Linked DNA regions of Homo sapiens: all the other regions are linked to region 1. The links are contacts of gene promoters, found by promoter capture Hi-C in human tissues and cell types (Jung and others, 2019). All regions are on one chromosome and are shown on one strand. Each heading gives the region's core, a stretch centred on a gene start or on the middle of the fragment in contact. The rest is flanking DNA. Distances are from core to core; before and after follow the strand shown.

What was found. Contacts are between HindIII fragments. The study calls those that stand out against the background at their distance.
Region 2: a fragment that was not itself captured here is called in contact with the fragment with the promoter of ZNF18 in region 1 in 1 of the 25 tissues and cell types used here (H1 embryonic stem cells).
Region 3: a fragment that was not itself captured here is called in contact with the fragment with the promoter of ZNF18 in region 1 in 1 of the 25 tissues and cell types used here (spleen).
Region 4: a fragment that was not itself captured here is called in contact with the fragment with the promoter of ZNF18 in region 1 in 1 of the 25 tissues and cell types used here (heart left ventricle).

The regions. Positions count from the first base shown.
Region 1 is chr17:11,996,005-11,998,766 of GRCh38, forward strand. It overlaps ZNF18 (zinc finger protein 18), which reads right to left and starts at 1,471. Exons shown (of 7, transcript NM_001303281.2): 1 at 1,427-1,471. RefSeq lists a silencer at 1,170-1,619 and enhancers at 1,552-2,535, 1,650-1,889, 1,960-2,039. The HindIII fragment of the contact is 7,782 bases long and covers 1-2,762 here.
Region 2 is chr17:11,604,809-11,607,508 of GRCh38, forward strand. All of the region lies in intron 1 of DNAH9 (dynein axonemal heavy chain 9), which reads left to right. Among named protein-coding and RNA genes, the nearest start is that of DNAH9, 7.7 kb to the left of the region's middle. The HindIII fragment of the contact is 5,283 bases long and covers 1-2,700 here.
Region 3 is chr17:11,585,709-11,588,408 of GRCh38, forward strand. No RefSeq gene overlaps it. Among named protein-coding and RNA genes, the nearest start is that of DNAH9, 11 kb to the right of the region's middle. The HindIII fragment of the contact is 7,192 bases long and covers 1-2,700 here.
Region 4 is chr17:11,559,663-11,562,499 of GRCh38, forward strand. SHISA6 (shisa family member 6) reads left to right here. Exons shown (of 6, transcript NM_207386.4): 6 at 1-2,837. Among named protein-coding and RNA genes, the nearest start is that of DNAH9, 37 kb to the right of the region's middle. The HindIII fragment of the contact is 4,369 bases long and covers 1-2,837 here.

The DNA of each region.
Region 1 (2,762 bases), core at 221-2,720:
AGCTTCCTGGGTTCAAATATATTCTCTGATCATAGTGCAATTAAAGTAGAAATCAATAACAATAACTAGAAAATCCCAATTTATGGAAATTACTAAATAATGCTCTTAACCCATAGTCAAAGAAAAAAATCACAAAGGAAATTAAAATATGTTTTCATACTGAGTGACAATGACAGCATTATCAAACCACCTGAAAAGCAGCTTTAGCTCAGAGGTAAACCTACAGTTTCAAATAACATCTTAAAAAACGAATAAATATATTTTTAAAAATACCTTGCTTTGTAAATCCAACCTATTTGGCTCAAGAGTTTCAAATAACAAGCGGCAAGATTTTAGATAGCAAGATACCGACCTGTAAACTTACTGCAATTTATCTGTTTCCTAAATTAAGATAGCAGTTTAGATAATATTTAAGAGAAATGACATTTTGGAAAAACTACAGATTTTATAAAATACTTAAATCTTTTGTTAGTAATATTATACTCCCAGGTAGTGTGTAAGAAAAATGTCTCGATTATTCAAAATTAAATTACTTTATATAGTATTAAAAATTTAATAGAGTTTATATTCCGATAACCTCATGAGGAACTGCCCCCATTAGTTATGAAAAAAAAATAAGGTTGTCTGTTATACCTGTTATTAAACCTTTAACAAATAGAATGAATTTTTAAAAGTGCATTCTAGGTGTAATATACACAAGTGGTTACATACATGGTTACATATATAAGTAACCATTTGTTAAGCACCTACTACGTATCGGCTCATTATTAAGCTCGGTTCATGTATTTCCAATTCCCACAATTACCCTGGTGTACAGATCAGGAACCTCCGAGGCTCACAAGTGGCAGCCAGATTAACCCAGGAAGCTCTAAAGCCTTTGCTTTGGGGAGAACTGCCAACGTCTGGTGATTTGTTGGGGCGTTTTCTGGTTGTCACAAGCAGCTAGGGGAACTGGCATTTAGTGCTCGAGGCCAGGGCAGCGCTGCTCATTGGATATGTATTCTCCACCATGCGCCCCCCAAATGCCGACTGCACTCTGATGAGAGAGGGAGAGACTCCAGGCATCATCCCATCGGGTTTCCTCTTCCAGAGACTCATTTTCAGCCCTTAGGGGAAGACAGCGGGGAGGAGCCCGTTTTCGGTCCCAGTGCAGAGACCCGGCCGGTCCCGCGGGGCGCAGAGGCGCAGGAATGCAGAGCCGGGACGGGGTTCACACATCCCCCCGCACCCACGGTCCACTCCCAGCCATGGCTGCCCCGGCCCCGCACTCGCCACGTCCCCCGCGCGCTCCCAGACGCATGGGCAAGGGAGCCCGCTGGCCCCTCCGTAGCTCCGGGGTGCCCAGCTGAGTCAGGTGCGGACGCAGATAGCGCAAGGCCTGACCCCGAGCGGCCGGAGGCCGGGACCGCCCCGCAAGCGCGCTCACCTCGGCCCGCGGCGCCGGCTCCGGGCGCACTTCCGGGAGCTGGGTGGCTGCGCGCGCCTCAGGCGGCAGGCGAACGACGTGCGGCACCGGGCGGAGCTAGGGGGCGGGGGCGGAGCTGATACCGAAGCTCCTATTGGCCGTCGGGGACGCCCCGCCTCTCTCTGGCGTTGCAGCCCAGGAGCCTCCACCGACATGGCAGCGAGGTTCCCGAGCCAACGCCATCCTCCGTTCCTTCCGTCACTCACTCACTAATCACTGTTCCTGAGTTCCTTCACTTCTCACCCGTCATTTATTGCGCACCTATTCTGTGCCAGGCACTCGGCCAAGCACTGCGAGGCCTTCAAAGATCATTTCTTTGTCTCTCCCAAACCCTTCCGCCCAGTCCCACCCGCAGAGCTGCAACGCTCTGCCATTATCCCTGATTCTTAACCGCCGCCTTTCTCCTTTCCGTTCTTGCCTCACTGGGCCTCCCTGAGACACTTGATTTGCCCCAACCTTCTTCCTCTGTCTTGGTTCTCCCACTCTCATCAGCTCTGCATCCCCTGGGTCCTCTCCCACTTCTCCCCATTCCGTTGGGGCTAGTCCAATGTGGTGCCATCCTCTTTCCACCTGCGTCTCTCTCTCTTCTCTCTCTCTCTCTCAACAAATGTCATCCCTGACTCTTCCCTTCTCCTTCCCTTTCCCACACGCCAACAATGGCTGAATCCTCTGATTTGACCTCATTGTCTCTCAGACACCTCACCCTCTCTCCCTTCTCACTATCCCTCCCTCGGCTCAGTTCCACACCATTTGTAATGGTCAAGACCTTCTTACCCTTTCCCCAGCGTCCAGTGTTGCCGGTTTCCAGGCCATCCTGTGCTGGGCCACGACATCAACTTGTGATACTAAGTTGCATTAATGGAAGTATCATGTCAAAGTTTGGGTGTTCCACCTTGGGCAACTGGCAAAGAGGAGGGTATTCAAAAAAAGCTGCCATGTTCCCCAATAACCTATGGAAATAAAATAAATAAAAAATAAAAATTTAAAGAAGAGCTGTCATTATCATAACATGTCCTGTACCTGTCATTATCATAACATGTCCTGTACCTGTCATTATCATAACATGTCCTGTACCTGTCATTATCATAACATGTCCTGTACCTGTCATTATCATAACATGTCCTGTACCTGTCATTATCATAACATGTCCTGTACCTGTCCCATGTTTACAAGAATTAAAGATCCTCCTCTGGAGAAATAAAGCTTGATGCGGGGATGGGATTACATCTTCATGTACCTGAAAAGTGACCAGCGGAAAAGGGATTCGACATGTTCTCTTAAGTCCCAGGGTCTGAAC
Region 2 (2,700 bases), core at 52-2,551, 390 kb before region 1:
GTGCCACACCACCGTCTTCTGTATTATAGCACCAACTTGGTAGGTGGCCTCCCTTTCCACCTTTGCCCCTTAGAGCCTATAATCACGGCAGCTTGGTTGATCCTACTCAAAACGATCTCAGCCTATGGCACTCCTTTGCTCAAAACTTTCAATGATGTCCATTTCTCTGAGAGTAAAAATCAAAATCTCACAGGCAAGGCTGCATGTGAATTGACTCCCTTTACTCTCACCTATTCTTTGGGATCACTCTGTCCCCGCTTTCCTTGCTTCCACACTGCTCCTTGATCAGACCAAGCATGCTTCCACCTCGGGGCCTTTGCACTGGCTGTTCCTTCTCCCTGCAATATACTTCTCCCAAGGATCTGCAAAGCACTCCCCCTATCCTTCCCAGCCTTTGTTCAAATCTTATCTTCTCAGTCAGGCCAACCTCAACATTTACAATTGCAGCCCCTCCACCCCACACTCCTGATTCCCTTCACATGCTTTATCTTTATTCACAGAACTTACTGTTTCTTGACTGTCTCTCCCTTAGAATATAAGCTTCATGAGGTCAGAAATTTTTGACTGTTTTGTTCACGGGTGTATCCTCCTAGCACCTAGAAAAGTACCAGCACATAATAGATGCTCAGTAAATACTCATTGAATAAATGAATGAGTAGCTTTTTGGTCTGTTGTTGTTGTTGTTGTTGTTGTTGTTGTTGTTGTTTCGAGACAGGGTCTCACTCTGTTGCCCAGGCTGGAGTACAGTGGCACGATTTCAGCTCACTGCAGACTCGACCTCCCTGGGCTCAAGCGATCCTCTCACCTCAGCCTCCTTAGTAACTGGGACTACAGACATGCGCCACTACAACCGGGCAATTTTTCTATTTTTTTTTTTGTACAGATGAGGTCTTGCTATGTTGCCCAGGCAGGTCTCCGACTCCTGGGCTCAAACAATCTGCCCTCCTCAGCCTCTCAGTGCTGGGATACAGGCGTGAGCCACCGCACCTGGCTATGAGTTGCTTTTCACTTCATAGAGAGTTCACATTCGTTATTTTTCTGTCACTCAAAGCCCTTAAAACCCCCACTCAAAACTATTCCTTTTTCTTCAGACAGTGTACATTCAGTTATTTGATAAACATCTTGAGTGCTTTCTATATGCCAGATCCTGGAGAGAACTCTGACTATATAAAAATTAAATAAGATAGAGTCCCTGCCTTTGAGATCCTAGGAAAATTCCAGTTCATCCTCTTTCCCGGTTAGGACTTCTGCCCTGGGTTCAAATGGTTCTTTCTTAACATGAATGTGATAAAGCTTAATTTGTAAACTTTCCTTCCTTTTTGAGCTCCCTTTACTGATTGTTGTAAGTTCCCAGCTCAGTGAATGTTTCCAGACAGACCAGGCAAAGACCATCCTCTAGAATCTAACATGCTGGGTCCAGGTATTCTATTTCACGGCCACTGGGGCTTATTGATCATAACCCAGCCAGTCATATGAGTTCATATTTCCTTTTGATTATTTATATATTGGTAGCTTCCTCATCACATTATATGAGCATCTGTTTGTCTTTCTGGTATTCTCCTTCCATCACTTGTGAGATTTTGACAGTCAAAGATTCCGGGTGAGTTTACTGACAACTTTCTTTCTTTTCTTTTCTTTTCTTTTCTTTTTTTTTTTTTTGAGACAGAGTCTTGCTCTGTCTCCAGGCTGGAATGCAGTGGTGCAATCTCGGCTCACTGCAACCTCCGCCTCCCGGGTTCAAGCGATTCCCCTGCCTCAGCCTCCTGAAGTAGCTGGGACTACAGGCACGTGCCACCACACTCGGCTAATTTTTTGTATTTTAGTAGAGACAGGGTTTCACCATGTTGGCCAGGATGGTCTTGATGTCCTGATCTCGTGATCTGCCCACCTCGGTATACTGACAAGTTTCTAAGTTGCGATTAATAGAAACCTAATTTAAACTAGCTTGGAAAGTTCAAGAGCAGCTTGATTTAGGAGCTCAAACAAAGTTACCAAGACTTGGTCTTTCTCCATCTGTAAGCACTCTCCTCTCATATTAACTTTATTCTAAGGCGCTATTGGTTGTGAAGGTGACCAAGAAAAGCTCCACACTAGCAGAAAAGAGAAGGTGTCTCTTCCTTGAAAAGTCACATAAGACACTTTGGCCTGACTCTCACTGGCTCAGATTTGGTTCCATGTTCACCTATGGATTTGGGGATGAATACTGAAAAAAGAGGAACTATGTTGGGTGGCCAGAATAACCTAACGTTCACCCTAAAGATGGATTCAAGATCCTCAACTTTGCTTGCCTTTTCAAGGTGCCCTTCCCACCACCTGTAGACAGAAGGTCATGTTTATCTGCTTGTGTCCTCCTTTTTTGCCTCTGGCCTTTGTGACTATTTAATCACCTCCTATTCACCCCGTTGATGAGGGAGGGATTCCTGCCTGAGAGTGATGGAGATGGGTAAACATACAACACCCAACATAGGACAGACACCATTGACAGCAGTTTTTCAGTCAACATACTCACAGCCCAGAAGAGGACACTGAGCCATGCAGGCCACATGGGGATTGCTCTTGGGAACAGACTAAATGACAAGGGGCTGTGGAAAGCACACTTTGTATTAATAGTATCAAGAAGGTGTAGTGGTCCCTGGATCTCACTGGGGGACGCAATTGGCTAGTTTAAATCATTCCACCAGCTGGCAGGGAACTGAAGTC
Region 3 (2,700 bases), core at 126-2,625, 410 kb before region 1:
TGGGCTCACCTGGCCAGCTCAGAGGTGAACATACTTTTTCATGCTTTTGATAGTGCATCTATTAATTCATTTACTCATGTACTTGCAAATGAATATTTCATATATTTCACAAATTTATAATCCCAGTACCACCAGAAGAGTTGACTCTCTTGACCTATAAGATGTGTGATTTCCTCCCAAATCAAGGGGATTACATCTAAGAAGGAAAGTTGACATCAACCCCCAAGAATTCCTGCAATCACAAAAAGGAGAAGAAGGTGTGTTTTCTGCACTGTTTCTTGTTCTGCCCACCCGTATCCTAGGGTGGGAAATGTACAGTTACACTCTATAGATTATTATAATTAAGTAGTGTGTGGAATTTGTTTTAAAAATAGCTTCATCAACTCTTCATAGCATATTTCTGTAAGACAAGTACAGGTGAAAAGCAAGCGAGGGTTGTTATTGTTTAGCACATTTAATTAAGTAAGTATTTCTTTCATCCTTCTGGGAATTAAACATTGAACAGTGAATAAACACAGGGAAATCTGCCCATATTAATTTCTGGCTTACTGCCTTAATTCAAAAGCAGGGTGAAAATCAAGAGCTAAGTCTGTGATCTGGGGTCATTATGTGCTAAGCAAAGCAATTGAAGGTTTACCCTTTACATCTCCGATAGAAGTTATTTCAGGAAATATCTTCTTTTATGTTCTCGCTCTCAACTACCTCCTTGATGGCCTCCTTCTCCTTTATAAATAAACATCATCTCTCCTCGTTCTTGAAGAAATTTTTCTTTACGTGTCACCTGCATCAGTTGTAATTTTTGTTTAACAGGGACAGAAACACCTCAAACTGGCTAACTGGAGAGAGAATGTCTTGGTTTATGCAAATGAAAAGTCTAGTCTTGCAGGCTGCATGTAGAGCTCAAAAATGTCATCAGGGGCCGGGCGCGGTGGCCCACGCCTGTAATCCCAGCACTTTGGGAGGCCAAGGCGAACGTATCACGAGGTCAGGAGATTGAGATCACTCTGGCTAACACCGTCTCTACTAAAAATACAAAAAATTAGCCGGGAATGGTGGCATGCACCTGTAGTTCCAGCTACTCTGGAGGCTCAGGCAGGAGAATCATTTGAACCCAGGAAGCAGAGGTTGCAGTGAGCTGAGATTGCACCACTGCTCTCCAGCCTGGGTGACAGAGTGAGACTCTGTCTCAAAAAAAAAAAAAAAATGTCATCAGGAACTGCTTCCTCTTCTCTGTCCCTTGCCTCTACTTCCCTTGTCTTGGCTCCATTTTCAGATAACCCTTCCCCTCATGGAGTCAAGAGGGTCACATTGGCTCTGTCCTACATCCTCCTAGGTTCAAGTCCAGTGGAAAATAGAAAATACTAGTTTATTCCAACATTCAAACCAAAGCTTAGGTCTGACTCTAATGTCCTGATAGGATCATATGGCCATTACCACATTGATGACTGTGACCAGAAGAAAGAATGATCCAAGTTTAGGCCAAGTCACATGCTTCAGCCATAGTACTGGGGGTTGAACCCTACCAGAAGTACCTGGACTAGGGCGGGGAAGGAGGCTGTCAAGAAGGTGGATATAGTTTCCACAACAAAAAGTGGTGAGTAGTTACTAGAAGAAGAGTGTATGGATTTGTTACAGCAAAGCACTTCTGAGTTTTATTTAATGAAACTGAGGCTGCTTTATATCCTTCCCATCTTGAGTCCTTCTCAACTGTGAGATTTGGTAGTTTCTAATCCAAACTAGAAGTCAGCAAACTTTTTCTGTAGAGTCAGATAATTAATTTTTTAGGTCTTGTGGGCCATACATTCTCTGCATAATTACAACTATTCAACTCTGCACTTTCAGTGTGAAATAAGTCATAGATAATGTATAAATGAATAGCCATGGCTGTGTTCCAATAAAACTGTATTTTCAGTATTGGCTGGTGGGTTGAATTTAGCCCATGGGCTATAGTTTGCTAACCCCTGATTGTTAATCATGGGTCCTAAGTATGAGAAGGAGTCAAAATAATATTTTACCCTCCTCTCCTCCAGCTTAACCATACCCCACGTTCTCCATTCTCATCACCTTTCTACAATCAGAAACAGAAACTCCCATAAACCACTGAGACTGAACATTGATCAAATTATGGGAAGTACATATTAGAAGTCAGTAGATAGTCATATTAATGCCGTATGAAGGTACATTTTCCATGGTCTCAAAACTCAGATTAAAAAAAAAAAAAGACTGAGAGACAAAATAGACAAATGAACAATGGCTAAGCCATATATAAAAAATAGAACTCACCTCACAATCTGTAGCAGCCAGTCTAGGAGGTCAAACAAGAACCCCTGTATTTATTGACTCAAATGGTCAGGATTTGATTAATAATTGATAGCTTCTGGAAGAGGTGGAGTTGTGGGGGTTCAAGTAAAAAATATTATATTCAAAAAAAATTTGGTATCTTCTCTAATTTTTGTCCCCAAACTTAGGGCCAACTGACGAAAGCCAAACAAGTTCCCCTAACCAATCACATGGATGTTCTGCTTCCACTGAACCAACTCCAGCTTCCACAGGCCAAAGGCCTCCAATCAGGGCACACATGAAGCCTTCCCTTCTTTCTGCTACAAATCTTTCCCACTCCTCTGCTTGCCTTTGAATCTATACCAAAATGTAAGTGATGGCAGCTGACTCTTTTGACATAGCCTTTGCTTGTTCTCATTT
Region 4 (2,837 bases), core at 235-2,734, 440 kb before region 1:
GGGCTAACTGGGCAGGTCCCCACAGCATCATCCCTTTGTGCAGGCACTGGGGTACCTGGTAGACCATGGTCCTCAGCTCTGTTGGGGGACCGCCACTGCCCGCCCACCTCAGCCTCTTCCCCGCCTCCAGCCTGGGGGTTGGCATGGTGTGACGGCCTCCTGGGGAGGTGACAGTGAATTCAGCAGCATCCGCTCCCCCAAGACCAGAGAGCCTGGTGGGGGAAAGAAGGGGTTCCCTCATTCTCAGGGCCAGGGCACCCGCTGGGTTGGGGCTGGGGGAATCAACTCCAGGCTATTGGGTGAAGGTGTGATCCTAAAAACAGTCAGATCCAACAGCAGTGCCCTTATAAATGGGGTTTTACCTGCCCTCAGTTCTGCACTCATGGCCCTTTAAAAAGGCGAGTGTAGAAGGAGAATTTATTGGTGTCAGCCCTGGAGATTTTTAATCTAACCAAGTCCACAAACCACAGAGAAAGCAATGGACTGTGTCCTTTCACTGATTTCAAGAGTTCCAAAGCTCTCATCTCCTTCTCCCCTCTGCAGGGTGTGCCTCCCAACAGGAACAGGAAACCATCACCCTGGATCTTAGGGGGATGGAGGCTGGGGGTTGTGAAAGCCACTGTCAGACCCCACACTGGGGATGCATTCCTGGAGTCGTGCGGCTGGAAGGCCAGGGACTACCCTCTCTGCTTTCCTCCCAACAGACACATAAACCTTCTTAAGGGCTGGTCCCCAGGGGTTTATAAGAGTTTGTTCCAGAAGGTGAGGCTAAGAGGGTTGGAAAGGAAGAAGTGAGTCTGAATAGAGCAGGTGGCTCCCAGCTGGGCCCCTGAGCCCAGCACCTTTGAATCGTCTAATCTGTGGCCATCCCTTGGAAGGCAGGATGCTGGTGGTGAGGGGAAAGGACCTGAGTGGCTGAGAATGCCCTTCCCAGGTGTCTACATGCAGGTATACACCAAACCAGAAAGCTGATCCCATCTCCAGTGTCAAAGCTTCTCAGCACCAAGTTCTCCAGCCCCCAGGGTGACACTTTTCCCCAGGGGTCCTCCCCAAGCCCTGTCTCTGACAGGGTTTCTGTCTCTCTCAGGGGTTGTTGATGAGTTGATTCCAAGACATTTCTCATCCCAGCCTTACCACTGTCTGGCTGAAAGGCTCTGATGTCAGTTGGGTTGGAAAATTCTACTGCAATGCTTACTTCTTTTCAAGGATTTCTTCTGCTTCACCTTTGGGTCTAGAAGCAAGGAATGAAGGGAGGGAGAGAGGGAGGGAGGGAGGGGAGGAGGGAAGAAAAAAGAAGTAGAGATAGGTCTACAGACTTGCTCCAATTCAGTCCCACATTTCAAAATCCAGAAAACTATGTCATAGCTGGGACAGAGAGGTATCCCATTTATTCAGCTGTCCCATCCATCTTCATGGAACAAGCAAAGCCACATCAATAGGCAAGTTCACGTAGCAGATAAAAGAGGCTTCTGGGGCTGGAACCTAGATGCCATGATTTCTAGCCCAACCAGGCTGGTGGCCTCTACCATACATAGAAGTACCATCCACCCTTACAGTAAAAGCCTCCCTCCTGCTCACAAAGGAAGCCTAAAGCCCAAGATTTCCCTCTCCTTGTTTTATTCATTTTTGCACATCTCTGTTGCTCTAACAGAAATGAACTGGAATCTGCACAGGTTCTCTCCTGCCCTGAAAGTTCTGCCTGGTTTCCTTGGCCTCTGATGGCATTGAAGCTTTCACAATCCCTCCTGCATCTCCACCTTCCCTGTCTTGCTCCAGGCTCCTGGCTCCATGCCTTCCTGTGTCAAAAAGGCTTTGCCAAGAATTACTTCACCTCCTAACCAGGCTTCTGCCCTCAGGGCTCCCCCAGTGTCTTGGGAGTGTCTTGGGCCACACGACTGCCTCTTAGAAAGTTCCAACCTTGCCCCCAATTCAAATTTCTCCTCCCCTCTTTCCACTCTCCCTCCCAGAAACTCCTGATTTCCAGAAAACCTCAGATTTCCAGGCCAGGTCACTCATTCCTTCCTCTCATCTCCCTCTTCCTCCATCTACCTTCCTCCATTCACCTTCCTCCATTCCTAATTTCTTTTCCCTGGTCTTGCTATAATCTCCAGCTCTAAAAATCAGAGCTCTCAATGAAAACAATGGAAGAATAAGACATTCTTTCGGTCTTCTGTTTGCCTCACTGGTGTATCCTTCATCTCCTGCCCCTGTGAGTTGATACCCCAGTGCACGGAGCCAAGGGCTTTTCCCCTCTGAGCTCTGGGAGGGAAGGGAATGGAGCTCTGGGTTTGAGATGTCATGGCCTGTGATAGTCAGTTTGGTTCCTGCCACTAGCAAGTCCCCTGAAGCTCCCAACCCAGCCTGATGTTAGCCCAGAAGCTCCTGCTCTGGCCAAAGACTCCTATCCTTGAGGGCTCTCAGCCACTGCTCCAACACACTTGCCCCCTTCCTGCTTGTGTATGTCACTTATCCTCCTTTGTCCACAAAGACTTGAGGGCCTCCTGAGTCTCCAAGCATGGAGGAATATCCATGCCAACATCCCTGCCATCAAACTCAATCCATTTTCTTCAGAGATACCTTGTCTGTCACCAGCCTCCAACTTCATATTCCTTCCACAGGCAACTGTGCACTTGACCCAAGGTAAAATGAAAGGGCTGCCAATCACTCGGACTCCAGAAGGTGCCTGCCCTGAGAAGAGCTGGCATGTTACCTCCCACATACATTTCCTGTCATCCTGTCCGAATCTGGGAAATTTTGCTCTGGAGTATTTTCAAGAAAGCGCATTGTGTTTTAATGAAGTATTTTTCAGGGTTCCAATGTTATTTTTTATAAATGCA